4 separate regions of the Homo sapiens genome follow, and all the other regions are linked to region 3. The links are contacts of gene promoters, found by promoter capture Hi-C in blood cells and fetal thymus (Javierre and others, 2016). All regions are on one chromosome and are shown on one strand. Each heading gives the region's core, a stretch centred on a gene start or on the middle of the fragment in contact. The rest is flanking DNA. Distances are from core to core; before and after follow the strand shown.

Evidence for each region. The method cuts DNA at HindIII sites, captures the fragments that hold promoters and counts their contacts. A CHiCAGO score of 5 or more calls a contact.
Region 1: a contact is called between a fragment that was not itself captured here and the fragment with the promoter of MEGF9 in region 3, in 1 of 17 cell types (activated CD4 T cells). The highest score is 6.5, in activated CD4 T cells.
Region 2: a contact is called between a fragment that was not itself captured here and the fragment with the promoter of MEGF9 in region 3, in 4 of 17 cell types (total CD4 T cells, naive B cells, erythroblasts and 1 more). The highest score is 6.2, in total CD4 T cells.
Region 4: a fragment that was not itself captured here is called in contact with the fragment with the promoter of MEGF9 in region 3 in 9 of 17 cell types (erythroblasts, activated CD4 T cells, monocytes and 6 more); the score reaches 9.5 in erythroblasts.

Annotation. Positions count from the first base shown.
Region 1 is chr9:121,029,819-121,032,535 of GRCh38, reverse strand. C5 (complement C5) reads left to right here. Exons shown (of 41, transcript NM_001735.3): 6 at 341-423; 7 at 2,049-2,139. Among named protein-coding and RNA genes, the nearest start is that of C5, 19 kb to the left of the region's middle. The HindIII fragment of the contact is 3,012 bases long and covers 1-2,717 here.
Region 2 is chr9:120,988,971-120,991,966 of GRCh38, reverse strand. C5 (complement C5) reads left to right here. Exons shown (of 41, transcript NM_001735.3): 23 at 687-776; 24 at 2,187-2,399; 25 at 2,846-2,921. Among named protein-coding and RNA genes, the nearest start is that of C5-OT1, 38 kb to the right of the region's middle. The HindIII fragment of the contact is 2,287 bases long and covers 474-2,760 here.
Region 3 is chr9:120,712,890-120,715,939 of GRCh38, reverse strand. It overlaps MEGF9 (multiple EGF like domains 9), which reads left to right and starts at 1,470. Exons shown (of 6, transcript NM_001080497.3): 1 at 1,470-2,182. The coding sequence starts at 1,582. RefSeq lists a silencer at 933-1,782. The HindIII fragment of the contact is 2,825 bases long and covers 735-3,050 here.
Region 4 is chr9:121,046,471-121,049,190 of GRCh38, reverse strand. The region is part of intron 1 of C5 (complement C5); the gene reads left to right. Among named protein-coding and RNA genes, the nearest start is that of C5, 2.4 kb to the left of the region's middle. The HindIII fragment of the contact is 632 bases long and covers 996-1,627 here.

The DNA of each region.
Region 1 (2,717 bases), core at 201-2,700, 320 kb before region 3:
ATTTTAGTATTATGTTAGCATAATTAGGCTCCAAGATTAAATAAATTCTCAGAAATAATAAGTTCTTCAAATCAAAACTAATGACTGTATTAAGATAAAATACCAGGAAAAATAATACAATATATGAAAAACTGGTTACTAAACAATATCTATTATCTATTATCCTAAAAATGCTCAATTATTTATTGCTTAAAAATCAGTCACAAATAAAATATATTACTTAGGTTTTATATATCTTTGTGTATTCTTCCCTCTTTAAAACAGGAATTTATTAGATCTCCTCTGAGTGAATTAAAAACATTTGATGACATCTATAATTTTAAATATTTTGCTTCCACAGATATGGTATGTGGACGATCAAGGCTAAATATAAAGAGGACTTTTCAACAACTGGAACCGCATATTTTGAAGTTAAAGAATATGGTAATTTCTGACAAGTAAAAGTTTTTCTTTGCTTTTTGTTTTTTGTTTTTGAGATGGAGTCTCGCTCTGTTGCCCAGGCTGGAGTGCAGTGGCACGATCTCAGCTCACTGCAACCTCCGCCTCCTGGGTTCAAGCAATTCTCTGCCTCAGCATCCCAAGTAGCTGGGATTACAGGCACCAACCACCATAGCCGGCTAATTTTTGTATTTTTAGTAGAGACAGGGTGTCACCATCTTGGCCAGGCTGGTCTTGAACTCCTGACCTCGTGATCCACCCACCTCGGCCTCCCAAAGTGCTGGGATTACAGGCATGAGCCACCGCACCCAGCCAATTAAAAGTTTTTCTATAAAAAGTTAGTGTTTTGCAATAATTCTTTTTAATAATGTAGTTAATGCAAAATTATTCCCAGATGAAGATGAGGCAGCCTGTACGTATGGCTAGAAGTACTGGCTAGAGGTTGGAGGGAGGAGTAGTAGTTGAATGCCTAGATTCTAGTTCCAGCATGCCTTTAACCCTGATCAAGCAGAACAACCTCTGTGTACTTGTGTTCCCCATCAGAGAGCTGGAAGAGATCTAGTCCCCTGAAGAGCTTGACTAGTAAAGATCCTTTCTAGAATTGTGATTATTATTAGGAGAAACTTAAATAGTCATAGATGAGGTGAGTGGAACCCAGTAAAACCAATAAATGATTTACTTGAGTCTTAAAACCAATTAGTGACAAAACAAAAACAACAATTAGGTTTCCTTACCCCTAGTCCAACACTATTTTCTGGCTCCTAAATTCCTAATATATTCATTTGAATATTTAAGATATTCTTATTTTGAAATAAATTATATTAATAGACTAACAAGTAACGTAAATAGTTTAATCTTTCATTTCTTATAGTAGTTTACTAGCATTTCTGTGTGCTCTGCTATCAAATTTAACTTTCTTCTGCTTGAAGCCATTTTTTATTCCCTCAAGAGATTCATAATGACATGGAGAAGAATAAATACTGACACAAATTTTAACAATTAACAAGAAAAACAGTGACAAAACAAATTCGTTATGATGAAACTCAACCTTAAAGATTACAGGCTCTCTGTAACATATAATCCTAACCCATCTCCCTTCTTCTAAGTGTTTTTGTATTTTCTCTGTATATCTAGAATCCACCCACCTCTTACTGTCTGTAGCCACTCTCATCAATTCATCAGCACTCTCCCTCCTGGACTACAGCAAAAGCCTCCTAACTGATGTCTCTGCTTCCAAGCTATCTTGCTTGGTATTAGCCAAAATAATCTTGAAATGCAAATTTCATTATGTTATGTCACAATTGAAAAGTTTTTTTGTTTTCAAGGAACCTATACTCTAATGGAAGAAATAACCTATTGCCTATAATAAATGCTGTAATCAAAATATAGGCAAAGTGCTTCTGGATTGACCTCTGATTGTTGGAGTGGGAAGGTTCTGCAGAGATTGTTGTTGGTGATGACGATGATGACGATGATGATTATGATAATAAAGTGGATGTTGTGTTGATGTTACAGCTTGTCCAACTATACCAGAAAGTCTAGCTGTTTGCTAGGCTTTAAAGTCTGCTCTAATCAAAATGGTAATATTACCTGTTTGTTTTTATTTTCAGTCTTGCCACATTTTTCTGTCTCAATCGAGCCAGAATATAATTTCATTGGTTACAAGAACTTTAAGAATTTTGAAATTACTATAAAAGCAAGGTAAGAACATTTGTTTTTTTGTTGTTTTTATTTTTATTTTTCAAATTAACTCAACTCTGGTTGATGATAGTTGCCCAAAGTGAGATCTGTGATTTATTATCAAAGTGTGCCATGATTTGGGGACTAATTGATAAAGGAGACATCATGCTGGTAGTTCATTTGCTTATTCTGATTTTAGCTGATTCTGAGTTTAGCTTTGTTGGCTATTCAACAGCAAAAACAAAGAAAAGTGCCAAAGATCTAAGTTTGGTGTATGTGTTTAGAAACTAGGGTAACTTAGAATATTGGGACTGAGATATGAAGGATTCACTTCCTATCTTTTTTTAATGATTTAATCAGCCAGCTAATGCTGCGTAACTACTTCAAAACCCAGTGCCTTGAAACTCCCACATTTATGAGTCAGCTGGGAAGTTCTGCTGATCTGGGCCAGGCTGGTGTCAGCTGGGCTCACCCATGTAGCTGCAGCCAGTTGGTAGGTCAGCTGGGGGCTGGCTGGTCTAGGAAGGTCCTGTCCATATGTCTGGCAGTTGGATGGGGCTAAAAGTGTGTGTGCCTCTCATCATCCAGCAGGCTAGCTT
Region 2 (2,996 bases), core at 368-2,867, 280 kb before region 3:
CACGTTACTTTCTAAGCCTCAATTTCCTCATCTATAAAATTAAACTAATGAAAATAGACCTAACATAGAGGACTGTTGTGAGAATCCAATGCAATAATTCATTTAAAGAACTTAGTAGCATGCTTGGTACTCTATCAGTAGAATGATCAATGTTACCTTTTTTTGGACATAAACCAGTGATCACAGTAGAAAAATTATCTGATACCAGTATGCTAAAACTCTGTTGTTTTGCCCATAGATTAAAAAGTATCAAAACTAGACTGGGAAGGGAAGGTGGAAAGAATTTCAGATCATACTTCCCTGTGGAGCTAATGTTCAATATATAGTTGATTAAGAAATTACATGTTAGTTATTCTTAGCTTTCAGTTCCAGGAACAATTTTCTGTCTTTGGGCAAGCTGGCATGCTATATTTTGCTGGTGAATAAGATTTATATAACCTATTTATTTCACATCTTATAATGACCAGGAAGCTTACAGCCAAATTTAATGCTTTATTTAATAAGATTATACAAGCCTAGGGTTTGATTAAAGTCCTTGATGATTTTTAACTTTCTTTTAAAATTTTAATAGTCTAATTATAAGTCTTTTATTTTGAAATATTCTTTGGAAGTAGATACATTATAAATAATCTGCAAACAGTCTTCCCCTGGAAACTCTGTATAAATCCAAATTTTCTAAATTACAGGTACCATTAGCAGACGAAAGGAGTTCCCATACAGGATACCCTTAGATTTGGTCCCCAAAACAGAAATCAAAAGGATTTTGAGTGTAAAAGGTAAATTAACAAATGCCATTTTTATTTCTCATTTCACTTGGTGCTTCAAACAAAAATCAAATATCCTCATGATTATTCTGTTTCTCCACTTCCGTGTTCAGTAGCACACACAAATCTACCTTTAGGAGTGCTCCACCCCTACCCACCCCCACTTTCAAACCTTTAATCACTTTTCCCACTATCTTCTTCCAACGGCCTGATTTACATGGAGATGCATTCTCCTCCAATGGAAGGTAGGGACTGTCATTGGCTCAAAGATGTCTCTAAAATGGGGGTCCAGTTGCTTCTAGACTTAAAGAACTTTCCATGGTCTTAGTGGCCAGTCCCGCTCCAGAGAAGGCCTATGGCCTGCACATGGCCTAGCGAGAACAGCACTGCTCTGCTGAAGTACTGGTCCCAGAAGGGTTGTCTTAGTCCATTTATGCTGCCATAACAAAATAACAAAATTTATAAATAATACAAATTTATTTCTCACAGTTCTGGAGGCTGGGAAGTCCAAGATCAAGGCATCAAGAGATTGGGTGTTTGGCAAGGGCTGCTCTCTGTTTCCATGAGGATATATGTTGCTGTATCCTCCTGTGGCAGAAAGTGGAAAGGCAAAAGGGCAAAAAGGGGTGAAGAACTTCCTCTTACCTCGTCTATAAGATTATTAATCCCACTCATTAGGGTGGAGCCATCATAACCTAATCACCTCTCAAAAAGCCCCACCTTCTAATACTATCACCTTGGTGATTAGGCTTCAGTGTATGAATTTTGGAGAGACATATACATTCAAACCATAGCAGGGATTCTCCTCCCCTCGCATACATTTGCAGAAGTGATATTTGCACAAGTGACTAGGTTTTCCTTAGTCTCCAGGCTTTACAATTCAATAACATATTACCGAATGATAGAATGTCCTGACTACATTTTATCTCAGATAAAACCCTAGAATCACAAAATGTTAGTACTGGAAAGGATCTTTTTGATCATGTGCAACCCTGCTGTTGGATATAAAAGAAAGTGGCATGTCCAAGGTTGCACAGTGAATTATAGACAGTCATGTCAGCACTCCCTGTTCAGGCTCTTTGCTTTGCTTCCTGGAAGGGATTGGTAAATATGGTTTATAATGTCTAAAGCTAACAGGTTGAATGGCAACTAATTTGCCATGTTCTCTTGCAGCAATCAGTCCACTGTATTACATTACCTACCACCATATTTTAGTGATTTTTAAAGTCTTTTTTTTTTTTGTTTCTTTCAAATTCATGTTCCTAACCGGATCTTTTTTTCTCACCCCGTTTCTGAGAAGCAAGTCAACTGCCTAGATAAAAAGGGAAGAACCATCTCTAGATGGTTGTTCTTCTCTCTTGAGAACATACTGTTAGAAGTTAATAAAAAGCAATGTGTCTACTTTGATCTTTTTTGTTTCAGGACTGCTTGTAGGTGAGATCTTGTCTGCAGTTCTAAGTCAGGAAGGCATCAATATCCTAACCCACCTCCCCAAAGGGAGTGCAGAGGCGGAGCTGATGAGCGTTGTCCCAGTATTCTATGTTTTTCACTACCTGGAAACAGGAAATCATTGGAACATTTTTCATTCTGACCCATTAATTGAAAAGCAGAAACTGAAGAAAAAATTAAAAGAAGGTAAAAAAAAAAAGTATTTCACATAAAAATTGGGTGATTCTAAACTAATATTTTTATTAAACTAATATTTAAGTTGTGAATTATAGAAAACTTTGTAAGAGAATTTTAGCAAAAAAATCATGAGATGGACTCTACTATATAAATAAATATTATTTCTGTAGCATTTTGGCTCAACTTACCAAAATGCCTGAATGAGAGGCAAGGCACCTGCATTCCAAACTACAGAACACTTCCTTCCTTTTCGAATGAGATCAGAATGTTCTACTTGATAATTCCCAATTCGAGCAATTCATATACTTCCTTTGAGAAGTTCAATGCTGGCCACAGAGCATATGCTTGCTGCCCAACACCAAAGGAAGCTTACCATTCTCAGGGCCTGATAAAGTGTTCTTTGAGTAGAAACGGAGGTCTGTTAAGCACCGTGTTCTTTTTCTTGTGCTTCTTAGGGATGTTGAGCATTATGTCCTACAGAAATGCTGACTACTCTTACAGTGTGTGGAAGGGTGGAAGTGCTAGCACTTGGTAAGTAGAAGATTTTGAGTTGCATTTTCATATAGTGGTTAATTAACTAAAGAATAATAACCATAATGGAAACTC
Region 3 (3,050 bases), core at 221-2,720:
ATACACAGCCTCCCCCACCCACTACTCATGCAGGAAAATAAATGCATGCTTTAATTAACATACACGGGTTCACACATAAATCTCATCCTGCTGGTCTGGTTGAAGACCAATGACTAATGGGAAACCATGCACAAAGCCAAACATCACGTAGGGGAGGCCGGGATTGGGTTAGCAGTGGGGCTTGAATTAAGCCCCATCAGATGACAAACCCGCCCTGCCTGGCTTCCTCTGGAAGCTGCTGAGCCGAAGCAGCAGCGCCTGACCTAGCTCTGGATCCTGGGCGGATGATGCGAGGCTGCGTGCCCGAATTCCAGCTTGATTCAGGGTTTAGTGTCATCCAGGGTCAAGCTCGGCTATTAGCCCCACCCCAACCCCTGCAACCAGCCGGAGGCTCTGGGGGCACTGAAGGGCTGTGGCCTGGGGCTGCTTTCTAATCCTGGGCTTGCCCTGGCGCAAATGCTGAGAATAGTTAGCATTAATGAGGGTTACAACAGTGGGCCAGGCTCTGGGCTAAGCCCTTTACGTCCATGACTTAATTCTCACAACAGCTCTGTGAGGGGGGTGGGGGGTGAGGGGTGTCCTATCATCTCCATTTTAGTGGTGAAAAAACCGCGCTCAGGCCACAAAACCATTCAGCAAAAGACATCAAGTTGAGGTTCAACCCTGTCTGATCCTATTCTTCCCGGGGTTTAGGTAAGTGTGCTTGCGAGCCTGTCTCCTCCACGCAGGAAGCTTGCACCTTCTGCCCTCAGGGGTCTCCACCGCCCGGTCCCGCCCCCTTGTCCAGTCTGGCACAACACCTGGCCCACAGCAGGTTTCTGGTGAGGGCGTGGGTCTCGGTTCAGGGAGGCCCTCAGCAAGGGCCTCAGCTTCCCCATCTCTGAAATGGGAATGGCGGCAGAGACCTCGCAAGGCTGCGACCAGGCTCTCTGGAGCAGCAGAGGGCATGCCAAGCTCTACATCGTCGCTGCCGCTGCCCTCTCCCATCGCGGGGTTCCCGCGCGGTCCCCGCCCGAGCTGGGGTGCGGCGCTGGCGCCCCATTGTTCAGGAGGGCGGGGATGCTCCCGAGTGCTGATTCCACCCCCCGCTCGTGCTCGCAGCCCGGTGGAGCAGATGACTAGGCCCGGCGTCTGCCGCGCGGGGCGCATCCTTTGTCTGCTCCGCGGCGCCCGGTGCCCGAGGCCCGCGCCCCACTCTTTGGGCAGACAAAGCCGGGGCCGCCGCGAGCCCGGCGGGCTAGAGCTGGGCTCGCACCACCCTTCTCCCGCCTCACGGACCGCCCCCTCTCCTGGACGTCCTCTGATTGGCCTACGGGGCTACAAAGAGGCCGGGAAGCGGGCGGATCACGTGGGCGACTGTGGCTTCCCATTGGTTAGGCGCGGCTGCCAATCGAGGAGGGCGGGCGGTCCGCGCTCGGTCCGGTCGCTCCCTCCGCGCTGGGGCCCGCCCGCGGGGCCGGCCGCCTGTCAGAGGGAGGTGGCGATGGTGCGCCCGGTGGCGGTGGCGGCGGCGGTTGCGGAGGCTTCCTTGGTCGGATTGCAACGAGGAGAAGATGACTGACCAACCGACTGGCTGAATGAATGAATGGCGGAGCCGAGCGCGCCATGAGGAGCCTGCCGAGCCTGGGCGGCCTCGCCCTGTTGTGCTGCGCCGCCGCCGCCGCCGCCGCCGCCGTCGCCTCAGCCGCCTCGGCGGGGAATGTCACCGGTGGCGGCGGGGCCGCGGGGCAGGTGGACGCGTCGCCGGGCCCCGGGTTGCGGGGCGAGCCCAGCCACCCCTTCCCTAGGGCGACGGCTCCCACGGCCCAGGCCCCGAGGACCGGGCCCCCGCGCGCCACCGTCCACCGACCCCTGGCTGCGACTTCTCCAGCCCAGTCCCCGGAGACCACCCCTCTTTGGGCGACTGCTGGACCCTCTTCCACCACCTTTCAGGCGCCGCTCGGCCCCTCGCCGACCACCCCTCCGGCGGCGGAACGCACTTCGACCACCTCTCAGGCGCCGACCAGACCCGCGCCGACCACCCTTTCGACGACCACTGGCCCGGCGCCGACCACCCCTGTAGCGACCACCGTACCGGCGCCCACGACTCCCCGGACCCCGACCCCCGATCTCCCCAGCAGCAGCAACAGCAGCGTCCTCCCCACCCCACCTGCCACCGAGGCCCCCTCTTCGCCTCCTCCAGGTGAGTCCGGCGCTCCCTCTCGGGCAGGACCCGTCCTCACCTCAGCCCCGGCAATCTAGGGTTGGGCTCTTGCCTATAATTTATCGTTTGTTACCCCAAAGACACCCCAGGTTCCGGCTCCCGAGGGGGGATCCCAGGTCCAGCTAGTCTCCCTCCCGCCCCCGATCAATCTGGAAAGTCTTTTGTCCCCCGTGGGCTGTGCTCCCTCGGGAGGGGGTGGCTGCTGGGTGGAAGGCATCTCATCTTCTTCCCAACAGGGCTTTCTGGCCTTTTTCAGAGACCAGAATGGGCGCAAACTTTTGGGTTGGGTTCGCGCACCCAGCCTCTCTGCCTGGGTTATTTGGGGAAGTTTGAAAGCCCGCATAGTACCTCCTTCAACCACTGGGTCAAAAGCTGAGGGTAAGGAATTCCTCCCAAAGCTCCAGTTTCCCTGTTCATTTCTTCTTGTTTATGTAAATATCAGATGTGTGTGTATGACAGGTGGAAGAGAGGTAGTGAGAGGATTTTGTTTACAAACAGTAGTATGGACCACTTGAGGGCAAAAAATAAAAACAAAAAAGGCATTGTAATCCATGTTGTCCCTGCAAATAAGTGGATTCAGTAGGTCATTTGGGACAGGTGTGTATCTAGGCTGAGCACATTTACAAATTAGGTTAAATCTCTTCCTCGCACCATTTTTTTCTTCCACAATTATAAGGTCAACATGTTTGGCCAAATACACCATTTAAGCAAGGATGCCTATTTTTGTCTCCTTAAGCCAGGATGTTCAACTTTGCTGATGCTGATATATGCCAATTTCTGTTTGAGCCCACGTAGAAAAGGCTTTTCTTGCTGAAGTCTTCAAGCAAAGTTAAAGACAACTCGTATT
Region 4 (2,720 bases), core at 62-2,561, 330 kb before region 3:
TCTGAAGAAGTCAGAGTGTACCATTTACAACATGGCAATCAATCACTTTAATTAATTGGTTGATTGATTGATTCAACAAATATTTATTGAGCATCTAAACATATGATAGGCACTGCAGATATAGCAAACGGTAAGACAATTCCTAGAGCTTGCATTCTAGTGGGAGAAGCAAGTAATGAATGAATGAACCAATGAAAGAATGTGTAAGGTCAGGTAGGTAGTATTATGAAGAAAAAAATAAAGCAGAGTATGAGAATTAAAAAATAATTATGGGGCACTATTTTAAAATGTGGCCAGGAAAGGTTCTCTTAAGGAGGCTGCACTCAAACAGAGCCTGAAGGAAGTGAGGAAGCAAACCATGCAAATATTTGAGGAAAGAGCATTCCAGATAGAGGCCAAAATAACATTCTTGCCTCTCTGCAAGCTCCTGCTCCTCTGCAGCAATTGAAAGACAAAGAAAACTATGAAATTATTTATATGGATAGATTATGCTACTGATAAGTCAATAAGAACCAAAATCTTTATAAAGGGTGGTTCCAGAATATTCTTTTAGGGGCTTCTAAACACTATGTATTTTTGCTTGACGGCTACCATCACATAGACCAGCAGTCCCCAACCATTTTGGCACTAGGGACAGGTTTTGTGGAAGACAATGTTTCCATGGACCAGGATTGGGGTGGGGATGGTTTCAGAATGAAACTGTTCCACTTCAGATCATCAGGCATTATATTCTCATAAGGAGCTTGCAATCTAGATCCCTCGCATGTGCGGTTCACAATAGAGTTCATGCTCCTAGGAGAATCTAATGCCACCACTGATCTGACAGGAGGCAGAGCTCAGGTGGTAATGCTCCTTTGCCCCACTGCTCACCTCCTGCTGTGTAGCCTGGTTCCTAACAAGCCATGGACTGGTATTTGTCCATGGCCCAGGGGTTGGGGACCCCTACCATACACAATTCAAAATTAAAGCAATACTAAACTTAAAAACATAAAGCTTCTATAAATACTGAAATTAAAGTAGCTTTATATCCCTAAATTTTTCTAATTACAAAACTCTTTATAAATTCCATTTAGTACAACAGTTGAAAATGTTAATTCTGGAAACGGGCTGCTCAGGTTCGATTTCTAATTCTATAATTTGTGAATTATAGAATTCATAAATCCTATATGTGTGGCCTTGGGAAAATTAATTAGCAGTTTCTTCACCTTAAAATTGGAGTAATAGTTCCTCACAGAGTGGTTGTAATGACACAATGAGTTTATACAAATAAAGTATTCAGAATAGTGCCTTATCACAGGGCAAAATTTCAGTAAATATATCTTATTATCATAAAAACTGAACTCCTCTCATTTTCTGCCATCTCCTACTAGGCATGTGGGGAAGGGGAATTCAGATGATGGTTGGAAATCTGGAAATTCTTTCCTCTCTTTTGTAATTTGCCTGTAAGTGGATCCAAATTAATTGTAATGCAGGATAACTGTCAGATGCTTTAAAGGATTTAATTGCTGATAAATTAATTCCATTGTTACTAAAAACTTCCTGCTTTTACCAGACTCTTAAAATGTCACAATGTTGGCAGAAGCCTGGAATAATTCTGCCAGGTGGGGTGGTGGGTGCCCTCCAAGCTTGTTGGGCCACTTGAATTAGTCGATCACTATGCCCTTTTGGGTTAAAACACTTTTTTTTCCTATGTAATAGCGTATGTAGTTCTCGCTATTCAAATTAGATACTCTTGTGATATACACTTAGTAATCCAGTTTATATTTGTAAGTTTTTAAATAAAATAATTTTTAAAAATCACTCAAAAGCATGTATAGACTCACTTCCATTATTGTATAAATCACATGAAAAGTAAAAATAAGAGAACAGTCTATGGTTGTGAATAACATATAAACTTGACCTCAACTGTACACATAACAACTGAGAACTCATATAAAGGCCTCCCCCATTTACTTACAAACCGTATAACCTTAGCCAAGTTAGCCTTTTACCACTTGCAAAGTACGAATAATGATAGTACCAGCATCATTGGCTTATTGTAAAAATTAACAAGAGCTGTATGTAAAGTGCTGATACAGCCTCTGATATGTGGCAAGTACTTAATTACCATTATTGTTTGAAGATGATGATTTGCTCTTAAAGGACCATCATCACTATTTCCATTTCCAAATGCACTTCCCAGCTCACTCATATTCTATCCTTTCCGTTATCCGTTTACTAGTATAACATAGTATTTCTAAGATCACTCCCTTTAAACTAATTTAGTGAGATTAATAAATCTTAACATGTATTGAGTACTAAGAGTGCTAGACCTTTTCATATATATGTTCTTATTTAATCTTTACCAGAGCCTGGTAAAGAAGGCGATTATTTTCACAGTAAGTTATTTTAGCCTCAGAAAGACTTAGTGACTTTACCACGGTCACTCAGCCAGCAGATGCCACAGCTGGAATTCAATCACTGCTTTTTTCTTCATTGAGCAAAAAATATTGACCCCATTTACATGTTCTGGTCAACATGATTAAAAGTCTTCCTTGGCTGCAGTAGCTAAGAGAAAGTGCTGCTATCACCTTAACTTTCTAAATGTAAACTAAACCTCCAGCTTCTCAGGTCTTAATTCCAAACTACTTGGAAATTATGCTGAAGTTATGGTGGGTCACAAGTACATTTTGACTTATTAGTATCATTTTTAAGTGAGGAAATATATGTATTTTAAATGG